Regions from separate parts of the Homo sapiens genome. Here regions 2, 3 and 4 are each linked to region 1. Evidence: promoter capture Hi-C in human tissues and cell types (Jung and others, 2019). All regions are on one chromosome and are shown on one strand. Each heading gives the region's core, a stretch centred on a gene start or on the middle of the fragment in contact. The rest is flanking DNA. Distances are from core to core; before and after follow the strand shown.

Region 1 (4,505 bases), core at 1,538-4,037:
ATACTTGTATTTAATATTTCCTAACCTTCTGTATAATGTCCACTTTAAGGAATTGAGACTAGCTCTGATTTTGCCCCCTTTGACTTTTAGGGTCAATAAGCTTTATTAAGGGCAATTTAGTGTCACAGGAAGAGAAAATTTATAACCCTGATCAATGAGGAATACAGAGGACACAAAGGTACATACATGTGATGGAGACCTATATCAAAAATGCTGTTATCAGTCAGAGTGCTGGCAGGAAACAGATGGTACACTCAAACCAGGCAACTGAGCTAAGGTTAATGAAGGCCTATTTACACAGGTGTGGGTGGGGCTATGGGAACCAACAAGTGATACTGAGACACCCATGGGCAGCACTCCCTGGAGAGCCATTACCTCCCCTAGGGCTAATGGGACTGTAAGGAGAGAGGTCACCGGACCCCACAGAGAGCTAGAGGAGACGACTGAGGGGTAGTGAGCTTCACACAGGAATGTAGCCCCTGCCGACTTGTGGCCTTGAGAGCTCGAGCATCCGTACCTCAACCATTCTGTCCTCCTGCCCCAACTTCCTCTGTGCCTCCATGGGCCAATGGGAAGCCAGAGGGTAACAGAGCCCATGTGGGGCTGTTCGTAGAGGTCAGTGTTCTGGGGTTCAGAACATGGTGGGGAGGAGGGCAGGGAGTCTGAAGGGTCAGACACAGAATGTCAAAAACATCCTTATATGTGGTTTCATCTAGTGCTCTTAAACCAGACTCACTAACCTACTGTGTTTTAAAATACAGCTTGCCAAAGTCTGTGTTAATATTATTTAACTTTGATGTGTATCTGTGATGGTTAGTTTTGTGTGTCAACTTGACTGAGCCATGGGATACTCCTAACAGGTTGAATGTTATTTCTGGGTGTATCTGTGAAGGTGTTTCTGGAAGAGATCAGGATCTGAGTTGGTGGACTGATTAAAGCAGATGGCTCTCCTCAATGTGGCTGGGCCTCATCCAGTCCATCCAGGGTCAGAATAGAAGAAAAACGGAGAGGAAGGGAGGACTTTTTCTCTTTGCCTGATTGAGCTGGAATATTGATCTTCTGCCCTCTGTGCTTCTGGTTCTCAGGCCTTTAGACCTGGGCTGCAATCTATACCATCGGCCCTCCAGCTCTTAGGCCTTTGACTTTCATCAGCTTTCCTGGGTCTCCAGCTTGCAGAGAGCAGATCATGGGGCTTCTCAGCCTCCACAATCACATGAACCAGTACCTGATAATAAATTGGTTCTGGTTTTTCCAGAGAACCCTGATTAATATACTATCTGTGCATTCACTTAGGAGAAACAAAGTCATTAAATGTGAAAAAAAAAAAAGAACTGAGTCACTCAGAAGAATCATACTATAGTTGCCCATCATATATTATAAAGAACAAAGTATTCTAAATTATTTACGAATAAGAATTCTATAAAGAAAATGACTGATTATCTGCGCTTACACAAAATATTTCATGGAAATTTTATTACCGTGCTCTTTTTTTTTTTTAATTTAACCATCATTATGTTGTGCATTCATCATCTGGAGTTTTTAGTTGTTTAGAATTCCCTGTTGGCAGCCAAATTCCTGTCTGGGAAAATGTATGAGCCAGCCTTCATTTTCCACGATGACTTTCCAAGGAACCATTACAATTAAGAGAATGTAAGTTACTCATCTCCAATAACTGTACATGAAGCAATATTCCGAGGATTTGTTAACTGTCTTTGACAGGAGATCATCTACTCACAGTAGGTGCTTAACAAATGCCATCTTGAATGAATGAAGACCCTTTCTCACAGTAACAAAGTTGGGTCCAGGCTCCTTCATTTTTGCTCAGCAAGATGAAGCTAAGGAAACAGGAAATAAGTCATCAACCAAATCATAGTAACAAATCGTTCTATTCCATTCTCCATAATTCACCCTTCAGTCCAGGGGAACACTAACAATTGCCCCTCCAGATACAAAGAAATTGCCTCCTCTGAAGACAGCTGCCTCACCTAAGGCCACATTTCCTTCCAGGTTGCCCCACTTCCAATGAGTCACTGATTGGCAATCCATAAAGGTCAGCTCTCTTGCCTCAACTCAGCATACCTCTGACAGATCGTCCCATCTTCCCGTCTCCCTTGAGGTTTGACTGGGGTTGCTGCTGACCCAGTGATATAGGAGTTAAGAAGAAAGTACTTAGGCAGATAGTGAAGGTATGGGAGTCCTCAGTAAGGTCTTCCTTTTAATGAAAAGCAGCCCCCAAATCATTTTCTTTTCTAACAAAAAGCAACCTGGAAAATCGAGCTGCAGACACAGACAAGCAAGCTGAAAGCTTGCACAGGCAAATACCGGCAGTTGTGCCAATAAAAATATACTACCTGGGGCCGGCGCTGTGGCTCACGCCTGTAATCCCAGCTACTCAGGAGGCTGAGGCAGGAGAATCGCCTGAACTTAGGAGGCGGAGGCTGTGGTGAGCCAAGATGGCGCCATTGCACTCCAGCCTGGGCAACAAGAGCGAAACTCCGACTCAAAAAGCGACAACAGCAGCAACAACAACAACAAAAAACACTACCTGGGATTAGGCATGTTCTAAATGGCAGCTCCATCTTCTCTTTTTGCCACCCATGTTTACAGAAACGAGTGGACAAGACGGCCCCTGCCAAGTGGGAAGCCTATTTGCATAACAAGATTAGGGTGGGGTGACCAGCCTTCCCTGCGCGCTACGTAAACGTCACCCCTGGTCGAACCAATCTCTGGGCTCCACGTAAATCAGACACCGCCTCCTCAAGCCTGCCCGTAAAACCTGCTGCCGTCAGTCACGGGCCAGCCTTTCCCTTAAGGATGTCTGAGAGCTGGTCTCCTCACTCTTTTCTTCCGCCTATTAAACTTTCCGCTTCTTAACTCACCCATGTGTGTCCATGTCGTTAATCATCTTGACGAGAGATGATGAACCCCGGATATTTACCCCAGACAGTGATGCCGCTTCACCAGCATTGCACTCTACTTCCCCGCTTCCTGATCCTGCCTCAGCTTCTCCTCTCCACAGGTATTGATCCCAAGAACAACCCGTAAGAAATGTCCTGCACGCTAATCTCCATCTCAGAGTCAGCTTCCCAGGGAATCCAGCAATTACGAAGCATTCAGCTTAATTTTGTTGATTGCTTTATGATTTTGTGTGTGTGTGTGTGTTTTAATGTTGAAATGTAACATATATTCAAAAGTGTGGATAAAGTCTCCATGACGATTAGTTTCCTGTGTCATCATGGGGGCCAGGCTTTAGTGCCTTTTTTTTTTTTTTTTTTTTTTTTTTTTTGTGGTGAGACAGAGTTTTGCTCTTGTCACCCAGACTGGAATGCAGTGGCGCGATCTCGGTTCACTACAACCTCCTGGGTTCAAGTGATTCTCCTGCTTCAGCCTCCCAAGTAGCTGGGATTACAGGTGCCCGCCACCAAGCCAGGCTAATTTTTGTATTTTTAGTACGGATGGGGTTTCACCATGTTGGCCAGGCTGGTCTTGAACTCCTGACCTCAAGTGATCTTCCTGCCTCGGCCTCCCAAAGTGCTGGGATTACAGGCGTGAGCCACTGCACCCGGCCTTTACTGCCCATTTATTTAATCAAACACTAATCTAGGTAGTGCTGCAAAGGTATTTTGTAGATGTAGTTAACATCTACAATCAGTTGGCTTTACATAAATCTTACTTTTCATACTGTGAATGGGCCTTATACAATCAGAAGCCTTAAGAGCAAAAACTGAATTTTCCTAGAGAAGAAAAAATTCTGCCTAAAGTCTGCAACATCGTTTCCTGCCTGAGTTTCAGCCTGCCAGCTTCTCCTACGGATTCTGGACTTGCCAGCCCCACAATCATGTAAGCCAATATGCTAAAATAAATTTCTTAATATAATTCTTAATGTATATATCCTTTTGATTCTGTTTTTCTGGAGAAATCTGGCTTATACAGGCTCTTAACATGATTGTTTATCTGTCAATTTTTATTTTATGGCTATGTTATTAGGTATAAACAAATTTACGATTATTTCATATTAAACCTGAAACGTTGATTATTCTGAAACGAGCCAGTCTTTGCTTTGGTTTTGTAACTTTTGCTTTGCATAGTAGTTTTACCATCCCTTACTTACTTTCAACCTGTCGATATCTTTATATTTAAAGTAAGCAGCTTGTTTAGCTTTGCTTGATATTATTACCTTCTCTGATGAGCTTTATATTTCAATTTCAATATTTAGTCTGTTTATATTTACTGTAATTCAAGGTTAAATCTACCATCTTACCATTGATTCCTATTTTCTCTGTTCTATGATTTTTTTTGTCCTTCCTTAAAGTTTTTGGGCTTATTTAAATTTTTCTAATTACATTTCTTCTTCTATTAGCTTGTTATTTATATGTTTTTTTAAAAAATTGGTGTTTTCTCTAATTGGTGCAACATGCATTCTTGACTTACTAAAGTGCTATCGGTGTGTGTTTTAAAGGCGCTACTGTAAATGTGTATACAAGTAATTTTTATCTAGATTTACC
Region 2 (4,526 bases), core at 952-3,451, 430 kb after region 1:
ATTATTCTGAAGGAAAAAAAAAATGCATTGCCTTTTTTTCTCAAGGGTAAAGGGAGAGGCAGTTGAAACACAAATATTAAATGGGAATTTGTCTGCCACTCTACGTTTTTTGTTTTTTGGGATTTTTTGGTTTTTGTTTTTACTTTAAGTTCTGGGATACTTGTGCAGAACATGCAGCTTTGTTACATAGGTATACATGTGCCATGGTGGTTTGTTGCGCCCATCAACCTGTCATCTAGGTTTTAAGCCCCGCATGCATTAAGTATTTGTCCTAATGCAATCCATGGAAATGGACACACATATCAAATTCCACTGCCTCAAACCCCAAATGACTAAGTGCTGGAATGCCACGACATCCCAAACTGCTTGAAATAAATGGGCCATCAGCTGAGGTTAGAGAAACCTTTTTTTTAATTATACAGCAAAACGTCTCAAAAAATATGTTTGATCCAGAGTGGTGGATCATAGCAAAAGCACATTGAATGAATATGTTCATGTCCCTGTCACTATTTAACTTAGCGGGGCCTGCCTGCAGGGTCTAAGGAGTTCTAACGGCTGTGCTTTCCTGTGAGCACAGGTGCGCGGTTACTCACACAGATTCCACCCCTGCCGAGTGGCCTCCAACCATGTCTCACTATATCCCACTGTCATATCCAAAATCAGATTTTGGATTTGCCAAAAACTGAGCAAAGCTAGAACAGAGACCGTAATCACTGAGCAGTGGCTGAAGATGTTCCTGGAAACCATTCTAGCCAGAAGCCAAACTGTGAATCAGGAAGATACGGGACACCTCAGAGGAACTCCTTAGAAGTCGGTCTCAGCTGATGCTCCCATTCAATAGGTGTCAATAGTTCCCACCTTCCAACAAGAGCTGCCAGAGCTCTGAGCAGGCTGTGCCAAGCAGGCTGGGAGGGTGTCAAAATGCCCAGCACTTCACCCTCATTGAAGATAAATCATCAGAAAGTTAAGATTTGGGAGCATCACAGCCCCCAATAAGGGAGGGGAGGGAGATGTCTCTCACTTCCAGTCTAGTAAATGAAGACCCTGTGGGAATCCTTAGAGGTCCTGACAGAGGCCCCCCTACACCTGAGCCTAGGGGTGCCAGGAAATTGTTGTCCTAGCCATACCTGGCCATCTGCCCTTGCAGTGGCTTCAGGGGTTGGAAACCCTGCACTCTCAGCCCCACACAATTCAATTATCTGTCTCTGTCCTTATTCCTCAAAGGTGTGACCTAAGCTTGCTTAGCTTGGAATTGAAAAAGTAACCTGGGCCAGGTACGGTGGCTCATGCCTGTAATCCCAGCACTTTAGGAGGCTGAGGCAGGTGGATCACGAGGTTGGGAGTTCAAGACCAGCCTGGCCAAGATGGTGAAACCTTGGTCTCTTCTAAAAATACCAAACTTAGCCGGGTATGGTGGCAGATGCCTGCAATCCCAGCTACTCAGGAGACTGAGGAAGAGAATTGCTTGATCCCGGTAGGAAGCAGAGGTTGCAGTGAGCCAAGATCACGCCACTGCACTCCAGCCTGGGCAACAGAGCAAGACTCTATCTCAAAAAAAAAAAAAAAAGAAAAGAAAAAAGAAGTAACCTGAAGTATCACCCATTAATATGTTACTTTGATGTACGAATATTTATGTCCAATTTCTGTTTGGAAAAGGAGGGGCTTTGTGGAATTTTTAAAATTCACATTTGTGCCCTGGCTGTGGCCATAGATATTCACTGAGCCAGGTGTCATGGTTGGTAGCTGTGGCACCATGCCGAAATTTCAAGAAAATACTCTTAGGCCTTTGGAAAATTGAAAAATCCTGAGGTTTCCTAAGACTGTCACAGCTGAGACCTTTTATCCCAGCAATGCCCATTACAAATGCAAGCATGCAGCTCCACAGTAGACATTGGCTGGAGGTGAAAATCTACCCCACAGAGCACCCCATCATTTCAATGCAAACAGACAGTTTATTGCAAGTCTTATGGTAGGCAGTCCTTGAATGATTTTAATTAACTTTTTATGTATCATTGACAAGTCCTTGAAGCTTTATAAACTTCAATACAGATTCAAGGAGGAATCGTTATTGTCAGGTTCATGCTATAGAGTAGAAAGCCTTGAATGTAAAAATAATTACATGGAAAATGATAAACCTTTGAACATTGAGTAGTTCATAATGATGACATGAAGAAGCATAGTCACTGGTAATTTATCAAATATATAGATATTTTGAAATAATTATATCATATGTCAATCAAACAATTTCAATCAAACAATTTTAATTGCATAATCTTATACTGAGAAAGAAAGGATTTTTATAAGGATAATCTGTAGTTTATTGCAGAGGGATAAGAGTATTTCTATTTTTTGAAATAATTTATCTAAAATTAAATTCCCTACGAATGCAGGAGTGGGGGTCATTAATGGAGAATCTGTGAGTTGGTGTCTTGGCCATGTGAGACCCAACTTTTGACTCTGCCTGAGACCCAAGCCATCTAGTTGACAGGGAGACACTACTGCTTCCCTGATAGGAAGCAATGGTGTGGGTGAAAGTCCCAGCCCACCACGTCCCTTGCACTCATCTCCCAATACTTCATGTGTTAAGAGACTAACCCTTTTCTTTCACGGTGGGCCATGAGTTTCAACATAAACATAGCCCGGCATGACATGTCATTTGTCTGATACTCAGTGGTAATTGGTTTCTTCTCACCAATAGATTGTTAATTCTTGGCAGGAATGAATGGAGAGAGGAAGGAAGAGAGAGAAGATAGAAATTTACTGAGTGCCTAGTATGTATTAAGAATGAGGACTGTGGTTAGATAGATGGACAGATAAGTCATGCCGTGAATGTTCGACCTGAACTGTAACTCTCCTCTATTGGGAGGCTCTGATAACAAAGAGACAGGATGAGAACAGTGAGCCCCTTAAAAGGTCAGAGGAAAACAAGATGGAAACCACTGAAAGGGGGAAGTAAGAAGAAAAAGAAAATATACTTTGCTTATGAATTTGCTTCCAAGTGACACTTCTTTATCCATTCCATCAGACTTTTTAGTATGTATGGATTTTGAAGTGATTGCAGAGCAATTAGTCAAAATTTCATCTCACTAAGTATGGTGGAGGGTGGAGAGCACCATTTTCTTCATTACTAGGGCTCTGTCCACCAGAAAGTGACTGCTTTTGAAAAGCTGTAGACTCTGCAAGCTTTCCTGTAATGGGACTTCTCATTTCCTCCTGCACTTCAATAGATAGAGGAACAGAGAGAATAGAGATATATTATACATATACATACATCATTCAGATATCCATTGATTTATATCACCTTTGATTTATCACCAACGATATATGGTGATTTATATCACCAATGATATATGCACCTTTGGTGTATATCTACAATACATATATCTAAATGTATCTCTACTACAATAGAATTATATTCATGAAACATATTCAAACCTGTTCCATTTGACTGCCATCATCCCCTCTTTGGATGTGATACTTCAGCCAACACTTTCATCATGTCCTTGTGTCTAGTAAGTTTTTCAAAATAGTACAACTAAGAGAAAAATATTAATACTTACTAGGCACCTAAGTCTGGGTTCCAACCAACCATCATGGAAGACATGTCTCATAAGTGAATAATCTCTGGTGCCTTATCTGGCATCTGCACCCCTCTCCCCCACCCCTTGGGTCATTGAGTCCGATATCACAGAATAAGCCTGGCCAACAGTGGGTTGTGTCACACATCCCATTAAGCTGAAAAACGAAGGTTAGGCTCACTAGGAAAAGCCCTGGACTTGTGTCCAGAGCCCTTTCACTCATGCCCTGTCCCTCCTGCTCATTAGCTGTGTCCTTGACTGACTGATCTGATTTCCCTGGACCTCATATTCTTTATCTGATGAGATTCCTGCCTGGCTAGGTTTCAATGATTATTAAATTAGATGATAAAAAAAAACATAGCATAGAATCTAGAATGTAGTAGATTTTTTAAAAAAAAAATGCTTTTAAAATACGGGTGTATCTCTAGTACTCAAGAGGTTCCATTTGCCTGTAAAATGACAGATGGTTCAAACATCTAAAAATGTCAAGTTAGAAAAAGTGCTTACTAATAAGGAATTAGCAGGTAATGCTTCTTTTTTAGGTTGAATTTGAATGAGATGAGCTGGGAATCCCATCACATATAATTCAAATATGTTAGAACAGTTTTGCTCTAAAATTATCCTTATAAGAGAAAAATAAAGAAGAAGAAACACCTGTCTGCCAAGCTCTTTAAAAATCAGCTATAGAAATAGAGAGTTCTCTATTTCTCATTCATGTGTTTTATGCCTAAAACAGGTCAGATAAGAAGGACACCTTCCATCTCAGATGGTAGGACTCAGTGAACAAAAACACTTTAAATCATCCACAGTTATTGAATATGCTATTGGTAGAACAAAGAAACCATTCCATCATCTGGCACTTGTTTATCTAGCAACTTTATCCATCTAGACTCTAGAATACAACTAAGAACTCCAAACTGAGGGGAGAAATGCAATCACAGAAGATGC
Region 3 (4,625 bases), core at 635-3,134, 380 kb after region 1:
CCCTCAGGAGGTCCTGAGAACATGTATGTGCCCAAGGTGGTCAGGGTGCAGCTTGGTTTGATACATTTTAGGGAGACATGAGACTTCAATCAAATACATTTCAGAAATACATTGGTTCAGTCCAGAAAGGCGGGACAACTCAAAGGAGGGGGGTTGTTAGTTCCAGTTTATAGGTAGATTTAGAATGTTTTCTAGTCGACAATGGGTTGAGTTTATCTAAAGACCTGGGATCAATAGAAAGGTAATGTCTAGGTTGCGATAAGAGATGTGGAGACCAAAGTTTTATCATGCAGCTGAAGCCTCCAGGTTGCAGGCTTCAGAGAGAGTAGATTGTAACCGATTCTTATCAGACTTCGGGTCTGTGTTGATGTTAATGCCAGAGAGGTATAATAAGGCGTGTCCAATCCCCACTTACCATAATGGCCTGAACCAGTCTCTCAGGTTAAATTTTAGGAGAGCCCTGGCCAAGGAAGAAGTCCACTCAGATGGTTGGGGGGCGTTCAAATTTTGTTTTTGGTTTACAAGAGCTACTGGTTTGTAGTAGTGCTGGGCACAGCATTTGCACTTCCTTGGGCACACGTTTTAAAATAGTCCCAGTGAGCTTCCTCCACAAGCCACACTGGAGTCATGGGCTTAGCAGGAAAGAACAGGGAGACTGGCAATGTTGCCACAGGTGCTTCAAAGCTGGGACCATGATTCATTTCTTCAGCCCTGGATAACAACACCTGATCTTTTTTTTTTTCAAACCTAAAGAATTGTTCATGAACCAAAATTTTTAAATAAATAAATAAAATGAATATTTACCCAAGCCAATGGTACACTGCCCTCTCCCAGTTCACTTTTCCCATTTGTAAATGCCCGTTTTTCCAGGAGCTTTTCTCCCTCTCTCCCTCCTCACCCCATCATGCATGGCATCAACATAAGATACTGTCAATGTCAAGCTTCTCCAATCAGGCACAAATTGGGTTATTAGTGGTGTGCAGAAAGCTGACACGAGCTTGCATAGCACTCAAAAAAATGAAAAACAATTGAACCAGCGGGCTAAAGTAGCCACAGCTCCCAAACTAGGAGGGAACATATTTACACACGTTTATCAGCAATTCCCCAACCATTTTTTGATTAGTTGTGTTCAATACCCCTTATTATATCACATTATGAACTCTTATTAATTTTTTCCCAATTACAGAGCCCTCAGCTCCTTCCACATCAAAAGGTTAAACCCCCCTAATAAGCAGCCCTTTTCTTCTGACTTAAGCCAACCAAGGGACTGCCTTTTGCATCAATTTTATTCCCAACATGCTAAGAGCTGGCGTTCCTCAGTACTGGATGTTCTGTAACAGCCCTGCCCAGTGGAAATATAATGCCAGCCACCTGCATAATCTTAAATTCTATAATATGAACCTTTGAAAGGAAAAAAGAAATAGGTGAAATTAAAATAATGATATATTTTATTTCACCCACTATATCCAGATATTAAAAGCTCAACATGTAATTGGTATGACAATTATTAATGGGATAGTTTACTTTTACATTATTACTCTTCAAAAATCCCCTGTGTGTTTAACACTTACTGCACATCTCTATTCAGACCAGGCAAATTTCAGGCTGGTAGCTGCTGTATTGGCCAGCACAGGTCTGCAAGAGACAAGCAGCTTTCTCTCTTCTCCTCTGGTGACTGACACAGGATTCTCTCTGCCGAAGTTACTCATTTTTTCCAGATAACCTTACCCTTCAGCCCATCCAAAGAGGAATTTGCAGATTAAAGAGGATGTTTTTGTTTGTATGTATCAAAAAGTTATTAGGGAGTATTGGTGCTAGAAGGAGAATTATCCAGCACTTAATCCATCTTACTGTGTTTTCAACAGCATTATCCAAGTCAATGCAGGGCCCATTAAAAACAAACACACAAACCAAATCTCTTCTGGTCCAGCTGAGAATATGTTTAAAGAACATTTCTTGGGGCTCAGGGAAAGGGGTATAAATAGAAATGTTAGCACTAAGACTGGGAGCACCAGCATCTTTGAATTTATGATATGAGCCAAAAGTTTGCAAAACTGGGTAAAACATGACTTCTCAAGGACACATCATTCGCAAATGTTGAGTTCTGCAGGCAAGGCAAAGTCGAGACAAGAGTGCAGATTTCTACTTTTCCCTAAAAAAGAGCAGATGTGATTACTTTAGTGTATGTACTTGCGTTGAGAATTCAGTCAAGTAACTTTAAAGAAATCAAATAAACCTTTGCTGGAGAAGGCAAGAATAATTCAGGGGAGGCACAGCAAAGCACACAGGCTTTGCCAATGGGCCCCAGGGGGGAGAAGCATGGAAGCAGGAGAAAATGTAATTTTAAAAGGACTATATCCCAAGTGCATGAAACCCAAACAGCATTGCAGTAGACAAGCCACAGGGCAGGGAAGTACAGGCCGTTTGTAATCTATGAGCTATTAATAAGTCATCCCCAGGAGACACAGAACACCAAATGGGGAACCATAGTTGGCCCCCAGGGCTGCCTGTCTCCATGGCCCATGCTGGCTGTCTGTGTGAGCCGAGACTCAAAAGTGCTCAAAATCTCACTGTTAAAAAAGAGTGTGAGCATTAAACAAATACAGCCCTGGAAAGTATGAGAAACCACTGTCCTGAAACCCATCATTCCACCTTGGCTTCCTGGAGAGCTGGCCAGGTGCAGAGCATGGTTTGACCCCAGGGAGAAGCCCAGAGTTTTCATGCTGTCTACCAAAAAGGCATCTCAATGGCAAATCCTTCTATCTCCTTCCAAGTTCATTCACTGTGGCCTTAAAATATACTCTACAAACATAGAACCAGAATGTCTTTGGGTTCCTAGACGGGGCCACTGCAGGGTTATACAAGATCATCGGGCAGGAATCTGCCCCCTTCTGTGCAGCAACTGTCCCAAACCAGAGTACATGGCTTGGTGAGCAGAGAATCAGCAGGGAGACTTTGTGACTCAGACTCTGTCCCCAGAAACCCTGTCCCCAGACACCACTCAGGCCTCACCCTAAATAGACTATGACTGGGCAGAAGGGAATCAAGTCCTCTTTCCGGATATTTTCCTTCCAGGATGGAAGACTTGACTGCAGATCAATTATGATCAGAGCTGCCTAAAGATATCGCAAGGTTATTGCTAGGAAAACTTTTCCTTTTAGCAAGATGATCCTGGAAAAATAAACAAACAAACGCCAACAGAGAAATCGCCCTCTTGACTTTCGTTCTGCTTCACTTTACAAATGCAGCTAATTTTGCAAGAGAAACACTGCCACCCAAGCTGAGAGAAAAAGGAAAATGCAAATATTTCCACTGTCTGATGAAAATCCACCAAGTAGTTCAGGTTAAAGTAGGAATCACCTCAAGGAATAAATGACTGATAAGCACAAATCCAGTTTACTTCTGGCCACTCTGACCCCTAATGAGACGTACTCCTGTAGCACATATACCCAGAGAGAGGCAATATGAAACAGGTCTTCTCTTGCCATCGGGCACTGATGCACAGTGAGGACCTCAGAGAAAAAACAAGCTGTGCTGTGTAAAGAAGCTCTGCAGATCCCCCCGTAACATATCAGTACAACACAGGAAAAGAACATCACACAATAAAAGAGAAAGTCCAATCTCACAAAAGGAAAAGCATCGTGCCCCCAACGTAATTTGTTAGGAAACTCATGTCAGGAGAAAAATCACATTGTCCCCCAGTCAACTGCAACAGCCCAGCGCAGCAACTCGTGTCTAAGTTGCATAAAAGTATTATTAAGGACGGTGCCTCCAGGAGGGTGACCGTGAAATGCTGAAGTCAGTTGGAGCTCATAGGCATTCATCACAGTCACCAGGTATTAATGGCTTGCCAGATGTTCCAACCTGGCCTCAAGCATGGTTGTCAGCGCTGCAGGCTGCAGAGGTGAACAGTACCTTAACAGGGCTGGGATGTAGGCTGCCCAGGCTCATGGAGGAGTCCCCTGCATTGTGCCTCCCTCTCTCCATCTCCCCATCGGGACACTGGCCCTGGATGGACATGCCACCATGCTTTATCTCTCAGATGTCTACCCTGCACACCCCTGGTTCTCAGGCTTAGGCAGATGAAGACACATGACCTTCCAGAGGTGTTGGACTTCTAGAGTTTTACCATCAAAAGCAACTTCTCTTTTCTCAGGTGAAATTAACCATTTACAAGAGTGCATTTCAGAGGCATTTAGTACATTGATGATGTTGTGCAGCCAACAACTCCATCATGTTCCAAAACATTCTCATTACCCCAAAAGGAAAGCCCATGCTCATAAAGCAGTGACTCCCAACTCCAAAACAGTGTTTAAGAGGATGTCTTATTTCATTCCAAAAAAATGTCTCCTACCCCACCCCACCCTCACCCCCAGACTCAGACCAGTTTTAAGCCACAAAAGAACCCTGAGTTCCCCTGGCAGGGATTTGTGTTTTATTGGTCTTTGCATCCCCAGGGCCTAGCACAGGGCTCGGTACACAGGAGGTGCCTGGTAGAAGTTATGGGACCAAAATGGCAGAGATGGGGCTCCAAGCCTGTGCTTGAGCCATCAGGTATGTACGTTTCAGCTCATCTGTTTTGAGCCAAGCCCCTAGGCTGCACTTTACTATAGACTCCACCTGAA
Region 4 (4,233 bases), core at 220-2,719, 450 kb after region 1:
CACCCGGAAGCTATCTAGAGGTCTGCAGCTGCCAGTCATCTCAGTAGCAAACAAAAGACATTCTTAACACTCCAGAGATTCTAGTGGTTTTAGGAGCTATGTATCAGGAAATGGGATAAAGGCCAAATATATATTTCACAATATCACAATACACTAGCAATGGACAATTCAAAAAGGAAATTAAGAAAACAGGCCCATTGACAATAGCATCCAAAAAATGAAATAAAATACCTAAGTTCAAACCAAGGAAGTGAAAACTCATATACTGAAAATCATAAGGTCCTGCTGAAAGAAATGAAAGAATATCTAAATAAATGGAATAACATCCTGTGCTTATAGGTTGGAGGGCTTAATATTATTTTTGCTTTGTTTTGTTTTGTCTTTTTGAGACAGGGTCTTATTCTGTCACCCAGGCTGGAGTGCAGTGGCACGATCTTGGGTGACTGCAGCCTCTGCCTCCCAGGCTCAAGTAATTCTCCCACCTCAGCCCTCCAAGTAGCTGGGACTACAAGCATGCACCACCATGCCCAGCTAACTTTTGTATTTTTAGGAGAGACATGGTTTCACCACGTTGCCCCGGCTGGTTTCAAACTCCTGAGCTCAAGTTATCTGCACACCTCAGCCTCCCAAAGTGCTGAGATTACAGGTGTGAGCCACTGCACTCAGCCCAGGCTTAATATTATTAAGATGGCAGTACTACCCAAAGTGATCTGCAGATTTAATGTTATCCCTGCCAAAATTCCAATGGCCATTTTGCAGAACTAAAAAGCCCAATCCTCAAGTTCATATGGAAATGCAAGGGTCCCCAAATGGCCAAAACAATGCTGAAAAAGAACAAAATTAGAAGATTCACACTTCCTCATTTCAAAACTTACTATAAAACTATAGTAATTAAAGCAGTGACTGAATATAAGGCATAAGGATGGACATCTAAACCAGTGGAATAGAATTTAGAGTCCAGAAATAAACCTGCACACCTTAGAATAATTGACTTTCATGAGGACACTAAGATCATTTAATGGGAAAGAATCCTCTTTTCAACAAATGGTGCTGGGACAACTAGATATATACATGCAAAAGAATTAGTTGAAACTCTACCTCATACATTTGCAAAAATAAACTCAAAATGCATCAAGACCTAAATAGAGGAGCAAAAGCTGTAAGACTCTTTAGAAGAAAACACAGGGGTAAATCTTCATGACTTCGGATTCATCAATGGATTCTTAGCTGTGACACCACAAGTACAGGCAACAAAAGAAAAATATAAATATAACTTCATCAAAATAAAAAACTTGTATGCATTGAAATACATTATCATGAAAGTGAAAGACAACATACAGAATGGGAGAAAATATTTTCAAATTATTTTCAAATATTTTGAATATCCATCTTAACCATGTTATTCCAGCTACAATTCTGTGAAGACATTTCAGAGTCTCTGCATATTTCCTTATTGTAAGCTCCAAACAGTAGATTCAGCATCATGAAAATGTCCAAAGCATTGTTGTTTTTATCCCTGCATTATAGCAGAGATGCATATGCACATTCACACACACACACACACACACACACAACACACACAGACTTCATGCTCCCCAACACCACCTACCATCTCCCTAAAGATACAAAGAACTGATTGGCATCAAGCAGAGATTTCTTTGAGGCTTCCCTGTTTTGTTTTCATTGAGCTTTGAATTTGTAGTATGTCAGCAAAAAAAGGCAAACTCTGTAAACTACTTAAAGAGGTTTATTCTGAGCCAAATATGAATGACCAGGGCCCAAAGCACAGTCTCAAGAAGTCCGGAGAACATGTGCCCAAGGTGACTGGGTTACGGCTTGGTCATATACGTTTTAGGGAGACATAAGACCTCAATCAATACATGTGAGGTATAAATTGTTTAGTTCTGGAAAGGCAGGACAACTGGAAGGTGGGGGGGTGCCTTACAGGTCATAGGTGGATTCAAAGATTTTCTGATTGGCAATTGGTTGAAGAGTTAAGTTATTATCTAAAGACCTAGAATCAATAGAAAGGAGTGTTTGGGTTAAGATAAGGGGTTGTGGAGACCAGGGTTCTTGTTATGTAGATGAAGTCTCATAGGTAGCTGCCCTTTGAGACAATAGATGGCAATGTTTCCTATTTAGATCTTTTAAAGGTGCTAATCTCTTCTGGATTGGGAGGGCCTGGAAGGGGAAATACCTAGTTATATTATTAGAGATTCCTTACAGATGCAAATTTTGCATCACGAAAGCCAGCTTTGCAGCACCATTTCAAAGTATAGCAAAGAAACCTATTTTGGGATAAAATATTTTGATATCCTCCTTTACCTGTCATGTGATGTTATACTAGAGTCAGTATATAATTTGCAAAAAGGATCCTTCTCCTTCCTCAGCAGAATTGGAGTGCCCCAAAGTTCAGATGAGTAAGAAAGTGGAGAAGCTCAGAGGCCGTGCAGGCCAGCTTCCTCCAACCAGCACGGGTGCGGCATCCACACCCAGGCTCAGACAGGAAGACACAGGCCTCCGGATGCTGCTGTGGGCCGAGGTGTATCTCCCAATCTGCCTATGTTGAAGTCCTAACCCCCCATACCTCAGCATGTGGCTGTATTTGGAGGTAGGGCCTTTAAAGAAGTGATTAAGGTAAACGAGGCCATTAGGGTGGGCCCTCATCCAACCTAACTGGTGTCCTTATAAGAATAGGAGATTAGGACACAGACACAGACACACACAGAGGGGTGACCCTGTGAGGACCCAGGGAGGAGAGGGCATCTGTAAGCCAAGGAGAGAGAACTGTGTTATTTAAGGCGCCATCTGTGGTTTCCCTTGAGGCAGTTCTGGGGAGCTCCTACAGGCTCCCATTACCCCTGGGGCACTAGCACTCCTCCAACTCCTCACGTGGGGCTGAACATGGGTCTGAAGGCCTCTATGGGTTTTGGAGAGGGCTCTGAGGCAGAAGACCAGAGAAGCCCCCATCAAGCACTGGAGGGGGTATGCTTTCAGCATGCACAGAACTGCCCCACACACCCGAGCTGAGGCCCTGGGGCTGTGGGCTCCGTCCCCAAGGGAGCCAGGCACCAGTGGTTCTCAGCTGCGCCCACTGATCAGACCATGGCGTGAGCTTTCAGCAAATGTCCACTGCATCCAATGACATCAGAATTGTGGAGTAAAGCCCAGGCCCCTGCGCTTTTAAGAAGCTCCAAGGAGCTCTGGCATGCCTCCTGGAGGAGGACACCACTCCAGGAGTGGCACTTGCTTCTCTGTGCCCAGAGTCGAGGTAGGCTCTGGCCCAACTGCACGAGATGGACCTAGGACAGTGGTTCTCAGTCAAGGGCAAGTTTTGTCCCCCGGGAGACAGAGGGCAATATATGGAGGCATTTTGGATGTCACAATGGGGTGAGAGGACTCTGCTACTGGCACCCTGTGATCAGAGGCAGAGAATGCTGCTAAACACCCTGCAGTGCCGACCCCGGAGCCCGCTACCCCGGACCTGCTACCCGGCGCCTGCTACCCTGGACCTGCTACCCCGGTGCCTGCTACCCCAGACCCCGCTACCCTGGCTCCTGCTACCCCAGCACCCACTACCCTGGAGCCTGCTACCCCGGCGCCCGCTACCCCGGACCCCGCTACCCCGGCGCCCACTACCCCAGCGTCCTCTACCCCAGCTCCCGCTACCCCGGCGCCTACTACCCCTGATGTCCTATTGAGTCATTCCAAGTCCTGGAATTATTTGGACTGACCCTAGGCTTAGCTGAATCCCCCTGGTCCAGACAGGATGGGCTTGTTACAAGAGGTCCTATGTGATGAGGGAAAGGTGTTGCTAAACGCCCCCCACAGTAGAGAATTCTCCAATTCAAAATGTGGAACCCTGGCCTGGATATATGAAGAGGGAACAAAAGGAACTCACACTCATCGGCCCTTGTTACATATCCAGTTTGGGTCTGGACACTTTGCCTGCGTTGCCTCATTTAATTTTTTTTTTTTTTTTTTTTTTTTTTTTTTAGTATTTATTGCTCATTCTTGGGTGTTTCTCGGAGAGGGGGATGTGGCAGGGTCATAGGATAATAGTGGAGAGAAGGTCAGCAGATAAACAGGTGAACAAAGGTCTCCGGTTTTCCTAGCCAGTGGTCCCTGCGGCCTTCCACAGTGTTTGTGTCCCTGGGTACTTGAGATTAGGGAGTGGTGATGACTCTTAACGAGTATGCTGCCTTCAAGCATCTGTTTAACAAAGCACATCTT

The links. Contacts are between HindIII fragments. The study calls those that stand out against the background at their distance.
Region 2: a fragment that was not itself captured here is called in contact with the fragment with the promoter of DSCR4 in region 1 in 7 of the 25 tissues and cell types used here (IMR-90 fibroblasts, aorta, dorsolateral prefrontal cortex and 4 more).
Region 3: a contact is called between a fragment that was not itself captured here and the fragment with the promoter of DSCR4 in region 1, in 1 of the 25 tissues and cell types used here (lymphoblastoid cells).
Region 4: a fragment that was not itself captured here is called in contact with the fragment with the promoter of DSCR4 in region 1 in 2 of the 25 tissues and cell types used here (dorsolateral prefrontal cortex and mesenchymal stem cells).

The regions. Positions count from the first base shown.
Region 1 is chr21:38,119,642-38,124,146 of GRCh38, reverse strand. DSCR4 (Down syndrome critical region 4) reads left to right here and starts at 2,787. Exons shown (of 3, transcript NR_147130.1): 1 at 2,787-3,019; 2 at 3,739-3,840. It overlaps DSCR8 (Down syndrome critical region 8), which reads right to left and starts at 2,696. Exons shown (of 3, transcript NR_026842.1): 1 at 2,546-2,696; 2 at 1,736-1,835. The HindIII fragment of the contact is 7,375 bases long and covers 1,204-4,505 here.
Region 2 is chr21:37,687,823-37,692,348 of GRCh38, reverse strand. The region is part of intron 3 of KCNJ6 (potassium inwardly rectifying channel subfamily J member 6); the gene reads left to right. All of the region lies in intron 1 of KCNJ6-AS1 (KCNJ6 antisense RNA 1), which reads right to left. Among named protein-coding and RNA genes, the nearest start is that of KCNJ6-AS1, 170 kb to the right of the region's middle. The HindIII fragment of the contact is 3,712 bases long and covers 346-4,057 here.
Region 3 is chr21:37,736,031-37,740,655 of GRCh38, reverse strand. The region is part of intron 2 of KCNJ6 (potassium inwardly rectifying channel subfamily J member 6); the gene reads left to right. KCNJ6-AS1 (KCNJ6 antisense RNA 1) reads right to left here. Exons shown (of 8, transcript NR_183540.1): 8 at 1-2,152. Among named protein-coding and RNA genes, the nearest start is that of KCNJ6, 180 kb to the left of the region's middle. The HindIII fragment of the contact is 4,180 bases long and covers 1-3,974 here.
Region 4 is chr21:37,666,918-37,671,150 of GRCh38, reverse strand. All of the region lies in intron 3 of KCNJ6 (potassium inwardly rectifying channel subfamily J member 6), which reads left to right. All of the region lies in intron 1 of KCNJ6-AS1 (KCNJ6 antisense RNA 1), which reads right to left. Among named protein-coding and RNA genes, the nearest start is that of KCNJ6-AS1, 150 kb to the right of the region's middle. RefSeq lists enhancers at 2,286-3,009, 3,010-3,732. The HindIII fragment of the contact is 4,201 bases long and covers 1-3,569 here.